2 separate regions of the Homo sapiens genome follow, and region 2 is linked to region 1. The links are contacts of gene promoters, found by promoter capture Hi-C in human tissues and cell types (Jung and others, 2019). All regions are on one chromosome and are shown on one strand. The core of a region is centred on a gene start or on the middle of the fragment in contact, and the rest is flanking DNA. Distances in the headings are between cores, read along the strand shown.

Region 1 (6,228 bases), core at 1,154-3,653:
CCCGTCATCTTCTCTGTGACTGCAGGCTGGGATCTGTCTGTCCTCTGCTCTCTTCCCTCAGTAGAGGGTTTTTATGGAGTCACAGAACAAAAATGGTTCCATGCCTTCCCTTTGCCGGTGGGGTGGTAGTGAGGGAGTCTGGACTGTGAGGGAGTCTGGACTGTGGGGGGCCCCAGGAAAGGGAGCTGCCTCACCCTCTCTCCCCAGGGAGCAGCAGAAGGCCCAGGAGCGTCAGGAGTTATGGCAAGGTCTGGAGGAGCTGCGGCTACGCCGGCTACAGGGGACCCAGGGGGCCAAGGAGGCCCCCCTCCAGCGGCTTACACCCCAGGTGGCCGCCAGTGGGGGTCAGAGCTAGACAGCACCTCAGAAGGGGAAAAGCTAAACCCAGAGCTGTCAGTCCCTCTATCCCTTCTCCTGTCCAGGGGCCCAGAGAGAAACACACCTACCCCTGGCCTTGCCAGAGTGGCTTCTGAGGACTCCCTGCCCAGCCCAGCTTTCACTGGGGGGAGACGAGGAGAGGCAATGGTGGTCTTGGCAACAGAATGCTCAGCCCCTCGTGGCAGGACTTGACAAGGGCAAGCTTGACCAGGAAGCTGCCATCAGGGATCTTCCCCTGCCCCGCAAAGCTAGGCTCCAGCTGCAGGCGGGCTCCCACCCTCTGCTCCTGGCCTTGGGCAAGGGCACTCAGCGCCTCGCCTGCCCCTGCCTTGGCCAATGCGAGGTCCTTCCTTATCCCCACCATGGGGTCCATGGTCTATTTATTCTCGCCCAGCTCACCCTCTACACAGACACTGTCCTGGGTGCACACTCCTCCCTTCCCTCGCTGTGTACTTCCTTGTCCCCTTTTTATTTATTGGGCAGGGGGAGGGGGAGGGCACAGGCAAGAAGAGATTCACAGTGTCCTGGGGTAAGGGGGGGTTCACAGTAATCATGGTCTACTCCTCTTTCCGTGGCTGGGGGTAGACTTAATAAAGAGAGAAATTCAAGAACTGCTTGCTTTATTTAGGGGTAAGGGCAAAGAGGGAAGTAAAATGATGAAAGATTGGTTTAGAAGGGCCAGGCAGAGGCAGGGAAGAAGCAGAAACTCCCCTCTTCTCAGGTGACAGTCACAAAATCTTACAAAGGATCAAAGCTGGAACAACCCTCCCCTTATTTAAAAAAATTCCATAGCAAGTAACCATCAGGGCTGGAGCTCCTTCCAGTTTTTGAATCTTGAACACAGGTTTCCCCCACCAGAACGTCAAGCCCTGTGACCCAGGGGAGGAAGGAGGGGAGAGGATGGGCTAGTAGCGAGAGAGGCGACACATGTCACACTGGCAGGCCCTGGCCGTGAAGATCTCGAGCTCCTCCCTCCGGCTCCCCACACACTGCAGCTGTACTTTGACCTGCGGGAGAGGGGAGTCCGTGCTGCAGTCCCCTTTCTCAGGGCTGTCTAGGATCTCCATCTCTCTGGTCTTCCCGCGACCCCAGCGTCCATCCACCGGGCCCGGGCCCTCCTCACCTTCTTCAGGCCACTGATGGTGCAGCACTGAGAGACGGAGGTGATGTTGTGTCGGTAACCACTGGCCACCAGCACAGAGTACCGAGAAGGGAAGGCGCTGGACTCACAGTGGCCCACACAGGCCTGTGCCACGTGGGAGCCCTGGCAGGTGCCTTGGCGGTCACTTCGCACTGTCACATTGAAGGCTAGAAGGAGATAGGCAAGCAGTAGACGGCGCCTCTGCCAAGGTTTGCCTCGCCCCAGCTCCCGTTGCCTGTGCCTCAGTGTGGGGCCCTTTAGGGTGCTGCCTGCCCCACCGTCCACTCAGCTCTTTGCTCCCACCCAGAACCTCCACTGCTCCTAGCCCTCCGGTCCCAGAGGTACTCACGGTGCAAGTGGCAGCCTGGGATGACTGCCTCCTGGCCCCAGGCTTCAGTGACTGCCAGGACCAGCAGATAGAGGACCAGGGTTTGAGGGGACGCCATAGGCATCTGAAACACAGTGGGGAGATGTCTCTACGTGGGTGTGCAGGTGGGATGGCGAGTTCTTTAAATACTGCATTCCAGGTGAGTGAGCCAGGGCTGGCTGGTCTGACAGGTGAGGTGTGCCTGAATGGTGCTGCCTTTTCCCTGTATCTGCCTTTGTGTGTGTGTGTGTGTGTGTATGGGTGTGAGTGTGAGCAGCTGTCTCTGGAAAGGACCTGTGTGTCAGCCCTCTGTGCAGTGATTCTCCCTTCCCTGGAATTTTCTTCGCCATCTGGAGCGCAAACATCTTCCTCCCTCCATCTGCCCCATCTTGGCCTGCAGGGCCCTCGTCCACATTCCCAGACCCTCCCCAGAGCTCCTCCTGCCTCAGCGAGCTCACCACTTCCGAGGCCCAGGAACAGAGCGGCTTGCAGTTTTCCTGTGCCTCCTGCTGGTCTCCAGCTTGGTGCTGGCTCTCCAGGCTTTTATTTGCCAGCATTTTGGAGCCACGCCCTCTTGGAGATCGGCTTTCAAACCAGCCTCCCCTGCCTGAAGCCTCAGAGCGATCCCACCTGGGGGATCTTGCTCTTTGAGGTGCGGTCCTCGGAGAGCAGCTCCTGCTGCTTTCTGCTTCTTTCTGTCCAAAAAGCTACCCACAGCCCAGGCCTCGATAAGTCAGATGTGGAGAGAAGCCTAGGAGCTGGTGGAGTGTGCAGCGTGTGTGCAGCTGACGACACAGGGGTCAAGACTCTTGGCTGAGTTGTGGACACCTGGGTTCTCTTTGCTCTGTGACCTTGGACAGAACATTTCCCTGTTCAGGGCCTGATCACCCCTAACTTTATTATTATTTATTACTATTATTTTGAGAGGGTCTGGCTCTGTCACCTAGGCTGGAGTGTGGTGGTGTTATCTCGGCTCACTGCAACCTCCACCTCCCAGCCTCCCAGACTCAAGCCATCCTCCCCCTTAGCCTCCTGAGTAGCTGGGACCACAGGCACACCACTATGACCAGCTAACTTTTGTATTTTTTTGTAGAGACAGGATTTTGCCATGTTGCCCATGGTGGTCTTGAACTGCTAAGCTCAAGTGATCCGCCTGCTTAGGCCTCCCAAAGTGCTAGAATTACAGGCATGAGACACTGTGCCTGGCCACACCCCTAATTTTAAAACCACTAAACTCAGTCCTGCTTGCCTTTTTCTAACTGCAAAGGAAAGGGATTGGGGAAGGAGATTCTTAGGGACAAGGGAAATTATACCAGTGGAGGTCTCCTGAGATGTGCTTGGTGGCAGGGCCGGGGGTTTGGGGGTTGCTGTCTGTTTCAGAGTTGCATGGCCACGGTATCAGTGGATGATTCGCATCCTGTGCTACAGAGTAACGTTCTGAGCTGGAGTGCTCCCCTAGCCCTGGAATAACAGGGACCTGACTCCTGAAAGGGCCTGAAGTTATCAACCCCAGCAAAGCTGATCTATTTGTCCAACTCTGGTTTTATAGATGAGGCAACTAAGGCTCAAAGAAAGAAAGTTACTAAAAGTCACCCAGCTAGTTAATGTTAGGGCTGATTTCAAATTCAAATCTGCTGTCCATCCATGGTGCTAAACTACACTTGAGCAAGAATGTGGCAAGCTGGAGAAAGACCCCCAGGCAGCAGTGGCCAGAGGGGTTGGGGCAAGGTGGAGAGCCAAAGGAAGCCTGTGGTGATTCTGGGCAGCCCCGCTTTGGGGTCATTGCCTCACTGATCTGCTCAGAAAGAGCAGGGCCAGTCACAGACTGCTAGAGCTAGAAGGCACTTTATAACTCACCAAATCCTACCCCCTCATTTTCTGGATGAGAAAATAAGAGCTCAGCGGAAAACAACTTCCCAAAGCTTCACTGTAAGCTAGTCAGAGTCAGGGCGGGCACTCACAGCTCCAGATTTGGAGCTGTGCTTCTTAGCAGCTTTGTAAAACAGGCCATGTTTGGGACAGTCGAGTAAAGGCTGTAAACGCAATTTGAGAGGAAGTGATGTTACTAATGTCACTAATCCTTAAATTCCCACACCCTACGGTTTCCCCATCAGCCCCCATCCCCTCAAGACCTGGGTCCTTGTTTGCCAGGTCCTCCGCAGCAGTCCACCTCTTCTCTTCTCCCCACCAAGGGTGCAGGCAGCATAGCAACAGGACGCAGCGGGAACTCAGCAGTTCAGCCCCTGCTCTCCCACTCTTGAGGGGCACCCTCTGGCATGTGACAGATGATGGCTTCTGTTTAAAGCATTTGGGTGACAAGGCTCATTACCTTATGAGGTAGCCCATTCTAATATTGGACATCTCTAACAGGTAAAAAGTGACTCCTTTGTTGTGAGCTAAAATGAGTTTCCCTACATTTCCATAGATCATTTTGGTTCTCCACGGCCACATGAGGCTAAAGTGTCTATTACAGATCAGTCCTTTAGTTGAAGGCAGCTCAGGTGGCCAGGCCTTCTCCAGGGGTGCCAACCTGGATTGACTTCCAGTTAATCTGATAAACGAATCTGCATTACTGTCAAACAGTTAAAGGGATAGAGAGGTGGGAAACATTTTGTCTATGGAGAGGCAACCATTTGGGGCCAAACTGGAACTGGGGAAGAGGTCTCTTGGGTGAGCAGGGCTCAGGACAGTGAGTCTTGAAAGACCCCATTCCCTAACCTCTGGCACAAACTCACCTACCCAAAGTGATCCTGTGAATAGTAACCAGGTAGACCTAGGGAAGTTTCATGCATTTTCTCTGTATCTTGAGGGAAGCATTTGTTCTCTTTTACTCTATTCCACTAAATTCAATCAATAACTCTTCATAAATAATTTATTGTCATTAGGATCCTAAGTGCCGAAGACAAAAGGCCTAAACCGGCCCTCAGGACATGAACATTTTAGAAAGTTCCATTCTTAATGTTTTAAATTGGGGGAAAAAATCTATTATAAAGGGGCAAAGGACACGATAAAACCACAGAGGACTCAGCATGGGGACCTCATTCCCCACGACTGAAGTGTCATAAGAAAAGGATAGAGTTGGAGGAAGAATGGCTCGGGAGGAGTCACTACAAGAGATGATCCTCTTTCCAGCGCTGCATTTGGAAGGCTCAAGAGTGGCTGCTCTTCCTGAAGAAATATCGAAACGGGAAGAGAGAGCTGCAAGAATGAGAACAGAGTAGGCTGAGACTCTATGAGGTCTCCTTCCCTTCTCCCCATTTCCCATTAGTGCTTCACTAGCTAGGGCATTTTTGCTCTGGGGAACCATTGAATGGAAATTCAAGACTGAATAGCATTTGAAAAGGTACCCAAATTAGATTATACTCAGGAGGGGGAAATAAAGAAACAGAATTGCAATGGGATGGCAGAGAGAGAGAGAGACAGAGAGAGACATTTGCTAACTGTCCTTTGCAAACACAACCTAGATTCAGAGGGGAGAATGGAAATGTTTGGTAACCAAATCATCTGAATGGCTCAAGTAAACTAAGAATAGACTTTGTTCAAGTTAATGTTTTTGTTTGGTTGGTTTTTTTGAGACAGAGTCTTGCTCTGTTGTCCAGGCTGGAGTGCAATGGCACGATCTCAGCTCACTGCAACCTCTGCCTCCCAGGTTAAAGTGATTCTCCTGCCTCAGCACCCCCAGTAGCTGGGATTACAGAACATTCCACCACATCCGGCTAATTTTATTTTATTTTATTTTTTTAATCTCGGCTCACTGCAACCTCTACCTCTCAGGTTCAAGAGATTCTCCTGCCTCAGCCTCACCTCCACCTCCCAGGTTCAAGCGATTCTCCTGCCTCAGCCTCCCTCCCAAGTAGCTGGTATCACAGGCATGTAGCACCATGCCCGGCTAATTTTGTATTTTTAGTAGAGATGGGCTTCACCATGTTGGCCAGGCTGGTCTTGAACTCCTGACCTCAAGTGATCCACCCGCCTTGGCCTCCCAAAGTGCTGGGATCATAGGCATGAGCCACCCGGCCTGGCCCAAGTTAATGTTTATGGGGCTTGGCTTTATCCTGGACACATCAGGGTGGAGGTGGGTTGTGTAAAAATAAGTAAAACACAGTCTTTATTAAATGCACAATTAGGGCTTTTGTTCTTAATCTCATTTCCATCATCTATCCTAGACATAAGTGAGAAGCCTCTGTAAGTAATCTGCTTTCTTTTCTATTCTAATTTCCCTGAAAGACTCAATGAGCCGCTCTGAGCTGGATCTCGAGTCTGATGCCGGACAGAAGCTGTCTTACCTTAGAAACCCAAAGAAGCCGGTGGCTGCTCGCTCCTTAGGTGGAGGTGAGTTGTG
Region 2 (6,228 bases), core at 2,005-4,504, 400 kb after region 1:
TGTGTAATAGCTCCAAACTGGAAATAACCCAAATGCCCATCAGCAGTAATATGGATTAAACAGCAATGTAAGAACTATTACCACAAAAGGACATGAATGAATCTCAGCCAGGCATGGTGGTTCGCGCCTGTAATCCCAACACTTCAGGAGGCCAGAACGCAAGGAATGCTCAAGGCCAGCCTGGGCAACATAGTGAGACCCTGTCTCTATAAAAAAAAAAATCAAAAATTAGCTGGGCATGGTGGCGTGTGCCTATAGTCCCAGAGAGGCTGAGGTGGGAGGATTGCTTGAGTCAGGGATGTAGAGGTTGCAGTGAGCCAAGATTGTGCCACTGAGATTTTTTTTTTTTTTTTTTGAGACACTGTCTTTTTTTTTTTGAGACGGAGTTTTGCTCTATTGTCCAGGCTGGAGTGCAACGGCACAATCTCAGCTCACCACAACCTCCGCCTCCTGGGTTCAAGCAATGCTTCTGCCTCAGCCTCCCAAGTAGCTGAGATTACAGGCGCACACCACCACGCCCAGCTAATTTTTTTGTATTTTTAGTAGAGACGGGGTTTCACCATGTTGGTCAGGCTGGTCTCGAACTCCTGACCTCATGATCCACCCGCCTCGGCCTACCAAAGTGCTAGGATTACAGGCATGAGCCACCATGCCTGGCTGACGCTGTCTTAAAAAAAAAAAAAAAAAGATTAGTCAGGGTGTAGTGGTGTGCCTGTAGTCTCAGCTACTCGAGAAGCTGAGGTGGGAGAATTACTTAAGCCTGGGAGGTCGAAGCTGCAATGAGCCATGATTACACGACTGCACTCAGCCTGGATGACAAAGTAAGACCCTGTCTTAAAAAAAAAAAAAATCTCAAAAATGTAATACTGTAGACAAAGCATTGTGGGGGCTGAAAAAAAAAAGGAAAAAATTAATATTGAACAAAAGAAGCCAAATTCAAAATAGGACATATTGTATGATTCCATTGACATACAGTTACACAGACACACTAATCTTTAGGGCTAGAAGCATGAGATGGCTACTGAGGTGCTAGTGATGTCTTTTTCTTCATCTGGGTAGTGGTTACACAGGTTTGTCTATTTTGTAAAGATCAATCAAGCTACAATTATTTTGCATGGTATACCTGCATCAAACCATCTCGTGTACCCATAAATATATACACCTACGATGTACCCACAAAAATTAAAAAATTGAAAAAAATTAGTCAAGCTATGAACCCGGAAGGCGGAGGTTGCAGTGAGCCGAGATCACGCCATTGCACTCCAGCCTGGGCAACAAGAGGGAAACTCCGTCTCAAAAAAAAAAAAAAAAAAATTAGTCAAGCTACATAAGATCTATGTGCTTCTCTTTATGTATATTTCAATTAAAAGTTTGAATTTAAAAATAGTACTAATAATAAATAGGCTAGCTGCATATAATTGGAAAGGCAGCTTATGAACCCAGCATCAATAGCTTTCAGTTCTTTTAGGATTGTTTAAGAAAAGGTTACATCAGCTGGCCAGGCGTGGTAGCTCATGCCTGTAATCCCAGCACTTGAAAGCCTAGGCGGGCGGAACACATGAGGTCAGGAGTTCGAGACCAACCTGGCCAACGTGGTAAAACTCTGTCTCTACAAAAAATACAAAAATTAGCTGGGGGCACCTGTAATCCCAGCTACTCGGAAAGCTGAGGCAGGAGAATCACTTGAACCCAGGAGGTGGAGGTTGCAGTGAGCTGAGATAGTGCCACTGCACTCTAGCCTGGGCTGGAAGGAAGAATTTGTTAAGGAGCGACAAGAGCAAAACTCCGTCTCAAAATAAATAAATAAATAAATATAAACAAATAATGTTGTTACGAACATTCTTGTACAGCTTTATTTTTTTTTTTTTGAGACGGAGTCTCGCTCTGTCACCCAGGCTGGAGTGCAGTGGCGCGATCTTGGCTCACTGCAAACTCCGCCTCCCAGGTTCACGCCATTCTCCCACCTCAGCCTCTCCAGTAGCTGGGATTACAGGCGTCCGCCACCATGCCCGGCTAATTTTGTTTTTGTATTTTTAGTAGAGATGGGGTTTCACCATGTTAGCCAGGACGGTCTCGATCTCCTGACCTCGTGATCCGCCCACCGTGGCCTCCCAAAGTGCTGGTATTACAAGCGTGAACCAATGCTCCTGGCCTGTTTTTTTTTGTTTTTTTTTTTTAAGAGACAGGATCTTGCTATGTTGCCCAGGCTGGTCTTGAACCCCTGGGCTCAAGTGATTCTCCCACCTCACCCTCTCAAGTAGCTGGGATTACAGGCATGAGGCATTGCACTCAGCTTCTTGTACAGCTTTCTTGTGTGTATATCCAGGAGTGGACTTTGCTGGGTCATAGGGTATGTGTATTTTCAGCTTTAGTGATTATATTTATATATATATATATATATATACATATGTATATATATACATATGTATATATATGTGTATATATATATATGTATATATGTGTATATATATATGTGTATATATATATGTATATATATTTTTTTTCCTTTTTTTTTTTTTTTTTCTTGAGATGGAGCCTCGCTCTGTTGCCCAGGCTGGAGTGCAGTGATGTGGCTCCAGTGGCTCACTGGAGCCTCAAACTCCTGGGCTCAAGTGATCCTCCCACCTCAGCCTCCCTAGTAGCTGGGATTACAGGCATGCACCACCATGCCCAGCTAATCTTTTTTCTTTTTCTTTTTTTCCTTTATTTATTTATTTATTTATTGAGAAGGAGTCTCGCTCTGTCGCCCAGGCTGGAGTGCAGTGGCGCGATCTCGGCTCACTGCAAACTCCGCCTCCCGGGTTCACGCCATTCTCCTGCCTCAGCCTCCCGAGTAGCTGGGACTACAGGCGCTCGCCACCACACCCGGCTAATTTTTTGTATTTTTAGTAGAGACGGGGTTTCACCGTGTTAGCCAGGATGGTCTCCATGTCCTGACCTCGTGATCCGCCCGCCTCGGCCTCCCAAAGTGCTGGGATTACAGGCGTGAGCCACCGCGCCCGGCCCCGGCTCCTGCTCCTCTAAATATTAGAGGCAAGCCTCGAACCGGAGCTCCGGGATGCATGCCAATCTCCGGTTGCGCCTGCGCGTCGGGCTCCCGTGGGGTCCACGCATTTCCTACCCGGCCCCCGCGAACAGGCGTAAAGCTCTTTCTTCAGTGCTCGCTCTAGTGCGCGCGCCCGGACGGCGCCTGCGCAGAGGGCAAGGAACCTGGTACCCCGGTGCGGTCCCGGCGCCTGCGCGCTGCGGACTGTGGGGCTTCTCGGCCCGAGGCAGAGGAACAGGGAAGATGGCGGCTGTGGTGGAGAATGTAGTGAAGCTGTGAGTGGTCGTTTCTTTCTCTCCTAGGGCGGCAGGTTTTGTAAAGGGCCTGGGAGTAGGGGGCGGTGGGGGAAGGGACTAGGCGGAGAGAGGGACATCCCCGGGAAAGCCATGTTGCGACTCCTGGTGGGGAGGGCAACAGGAGACTCCGGAGAAGACGTTGCGCTTCTTTGGAAACTTGTGGAGGCCCTGGTGGGGGCACACTGGAGCCCCGACGGGCGGCATCCCTGCGGGGCTGTGTGGCCTCAGCGTTCCTCGGGGCTGACGGTTTCCAGAGCATGGCGCCCTGCCTGCACGCGAGACTCACCGTCCCGGTCCTCTCCCGAGACGCCTCAGTCCGGAGGAGCGGGGCCGAGGCCCGGGCGGCCCTACGGCTGGCCCGCCGCCCACCCCGCCCCGTCCCGTCCCGTTCGCTGCAGCAACAGGCTCGGCGGCCCCTGCGGAGTGCACTGCGGGGCTGGCTGTTTCAGTTCCAGGCAGCCCCGTGATGTTTGGGAGGATCTTGGGTGGCAGGTACCTAAGACTACAAATATTCTTGGGAAGAATTTATCGAGGAGCGGATCCAGAAGGGAAGGAACTTCAGGGGAGTGGGCCTTGGCCCCGTCCAGTAGCAGCCATCAAAAACCTGCAACTGGACCGAAGCCGTTCAGGACAGCTTAGCCTAAAGGGGCATCTAGGTGGGCATTCTTCCTATTATACGATACCATTGTGCTGGTCAGATTTCAAGCAAAGTTAAAGTTAATAGCTGTTGGGGCCATGGACGCTGGCCTATGAACTGCTTCCTGTGAGTTAAAGATGCTTTGGGACTTGATTTATTCCTACAGAAGAATCAGAATGAGTTTTAGATTGGGTTAATGCATGGTGGGCGAATAGAGCTTCTTTTAATGGGTATGTTGGGCTTGGTGCAAGGGTGGGAAAATTGAGTGGTGTCTAGCTGTCCAGTCAGGGTTTTTGCATTTTGACTGGATGACGAGGTAAAGGTTCGGTAACTCTTCTAAGGGACTCACAGCTTCTCATCTGTCTTTGTCGTGGCCTGAGCCCCACTCTTCCTAAGAGCCTTTTTAAAGAGTAAGTTGCTTCTCCCTCCTGCCTGAAGCCTTTTCTTTGAGAATGCTTTCCCACTTCCATTAAGCTAAGTGCCTTTCCTCCTCTTGTGGTTTGTTTTTTTTTTTTTTAAGTTGCTTTCTGCTCTATCCTGCTGTCTCTTTCAGCCACCCCTCCTCCCAACGCTATTGTCTTTCTCTCTGATCTGCCCACTCCAGTTTCCCCAGCTCTTTCTTCAGGCTGACATTTTTCTCAATTTAGAAATGACACTGTTGATCTACCATTTATCCAGTTATCCTTCCTGACTCAGATGTTCTTTCTTTGTTTCCCTGCGTCTTTGTTGACTTCCCTCATCCCATTGTAAGGGGATGTTTTACACAGGTTTCTCCAAAAATAAAAAGGAAGATTCTCATTGTACTGGGGGAGTATCAGACTTGCCTAGGTTTTGGGAGTTAAACGTAGTGAGGTTCTTCGTGTTGGAAGATTTTCCTCAGAGAAATAGGGTTGCCAGTGCTTTCAAGTTGTGTCATAAGTGAGGGGTTGCCCATTTAAACAGAGCGTGACATCTTGTTTCTCTTTGAAAAACTGTAGAGATTGTGAGCATCACCAGCCACTAATTCCTGAATGCCAGTAATGAGAAACCAACTCTCTCCTCCTCATTTCTAGCTGCACAGGGCCTCAGATCACAATTAATACGTACTCCCACAGAATTATCCCTTTAAGAAGGGGCTTCTATTCTTCCAGTTCATTTGGAGATATGGCACTTCTCTTGATTATAGTGTGCCTAGTCTTCTGACAGCTGATGTTATACATTGAGTACATTGAGGTCAGGACCACTAGCTCATCTTTTCTTTTTTTTTATTTTTTTAGACAGAGTCTCACTGTTGTCGGCCCGGGCTGGAATGCAGTGGCACGATCTTGGCTCACTGCAACCTCCGCCTCCCGGGTTCCAGCAATTCTCCTGCTTCAGCCTCCCGGGTAGCTGAGATTACAGGTGCCCACCACCACACCTGGCTAATTTTTGTGTTTTTAGTAGAGATGGGGTTTCACCATGTTGGCCAGGCTGGTCTTGAACTCCTGACCTCAGGAGTTCACCCGCCTCGGCCTCCCAAAGTGCTGGGATTATAGGCGTGAGCCACCACGCCCGGCCCCTCATCTTGTATGACTTGCATCTTGTCCTGGGAAAAGAATTTTCTTATTTGTAAATTTCTATCCCTTCCGAATGTGATGTCAGAAATGAAAGTCTTGGCTGGGTGCAGTGGCTTACGCCTATAATCCCAACACTTTGGGAGGTTGAGGCAGGCAGATTGCTTGAGGTCAGGAGTTTGAGACCAGCCTGGCCAACATGGTGAAACCTCATCTCTACTAAAACTATAAAAATTAGTTAGGTGTGGTGGCGCACACCTGTAGTCCCAGCTACTTGAGAGGCTGAGGCACAAGAATCGCCTGAACCCAGGCGGCAGAGGTTGAAGTGAGCTGATATCACACCACTGCCCTCCAGCCTGAGTGACACTTTTAAGACTCTTTCTTAAAAAAAAGAAAGAGGCTGTTGGGCGCGGTGGCTCATGCCTGTAATCCCAGCACTTTGGGAGTCCGAGGCGGGCAGATCACAAGGTCAGGAGATTGAGACCATCCTGGCCAACATGGCGAAACCCCACTCTACCAAAAATACAAAAATTAGCTGGGCATGGTGGCGTGTGTCTGTAATCCCAGCTACTCAGGACGCTGAGGGAAGGGAATCACTTGAATCCAGGAGGCAGAGGTTGCAGTGAGCCAAGATCGCACCACTGCACTCCAGCCTGGCAACAGCAAGACTCCATCTCAAAAAAAAAAAAAAAAAAAAAGAAGCCGGGCACGGTGGCT

Evidence for each region. Contacts are between HindIII fragments. The study calls those that stand out against the background at their distance.
Region 2: the fragment with the promoter of DPF2 here is called in contact with the fragment with the promoter of GPHA2 in region 1 in 1 of the 25 tissues and cell types used here (heart left ventricle).

What each region holds. Positions count from the first base shown.
Region 1 is chr11:64,933,490-64,939,717 of GRCh38, forward strand. It overlaps GPHA2 (glycoprotein hormone subunit alpha 2), which reads right to left and starts at 2,404. Exons shown (of 4, transcript NM_130769.4): 1 at 2,345-2,404; 2 at 1,869-1,971; 3 at 1,502-1,686; 4 at 982-1,385. The coding sequence starts at 1,971. The coding sequence ends at 1,284. PPP2R5B (protein phosphatase 2 regulatory subunit B'beta) reads left to right here. Exons shown (of 14, transcript NM_006244.4): 14 at 208-986. The coding sequence ends at 355. It overlaps MAJIN (membrane anchored junction protein), which reads right to left. Exons shown (of 11, transcript NM_001037225.3): 10 at 6,173-6,228; 11 at 4,741-5,084. The coding sequence ends at 6,174. The HindIII fragment of the contact is 7,271 bases long and covers 1-6,228 here.
Region 2 is chr11:65,330,598-65,336,825 of GRCh38, forward strand. It overlaps DPF2 (double PHD fingers 2), which reads left to right and starts at 3,255. Exons shown (of 11, transcript NM_006268.5): 1 at 3,255-3,321. The coding sequence starts at 3,290. RefSeq lists an enhancer at 3,507-3,556 and a silencer at 3,607-3,696. The HindIII fragment of the contact is 14,713 bases long and covers 1-6,228 here.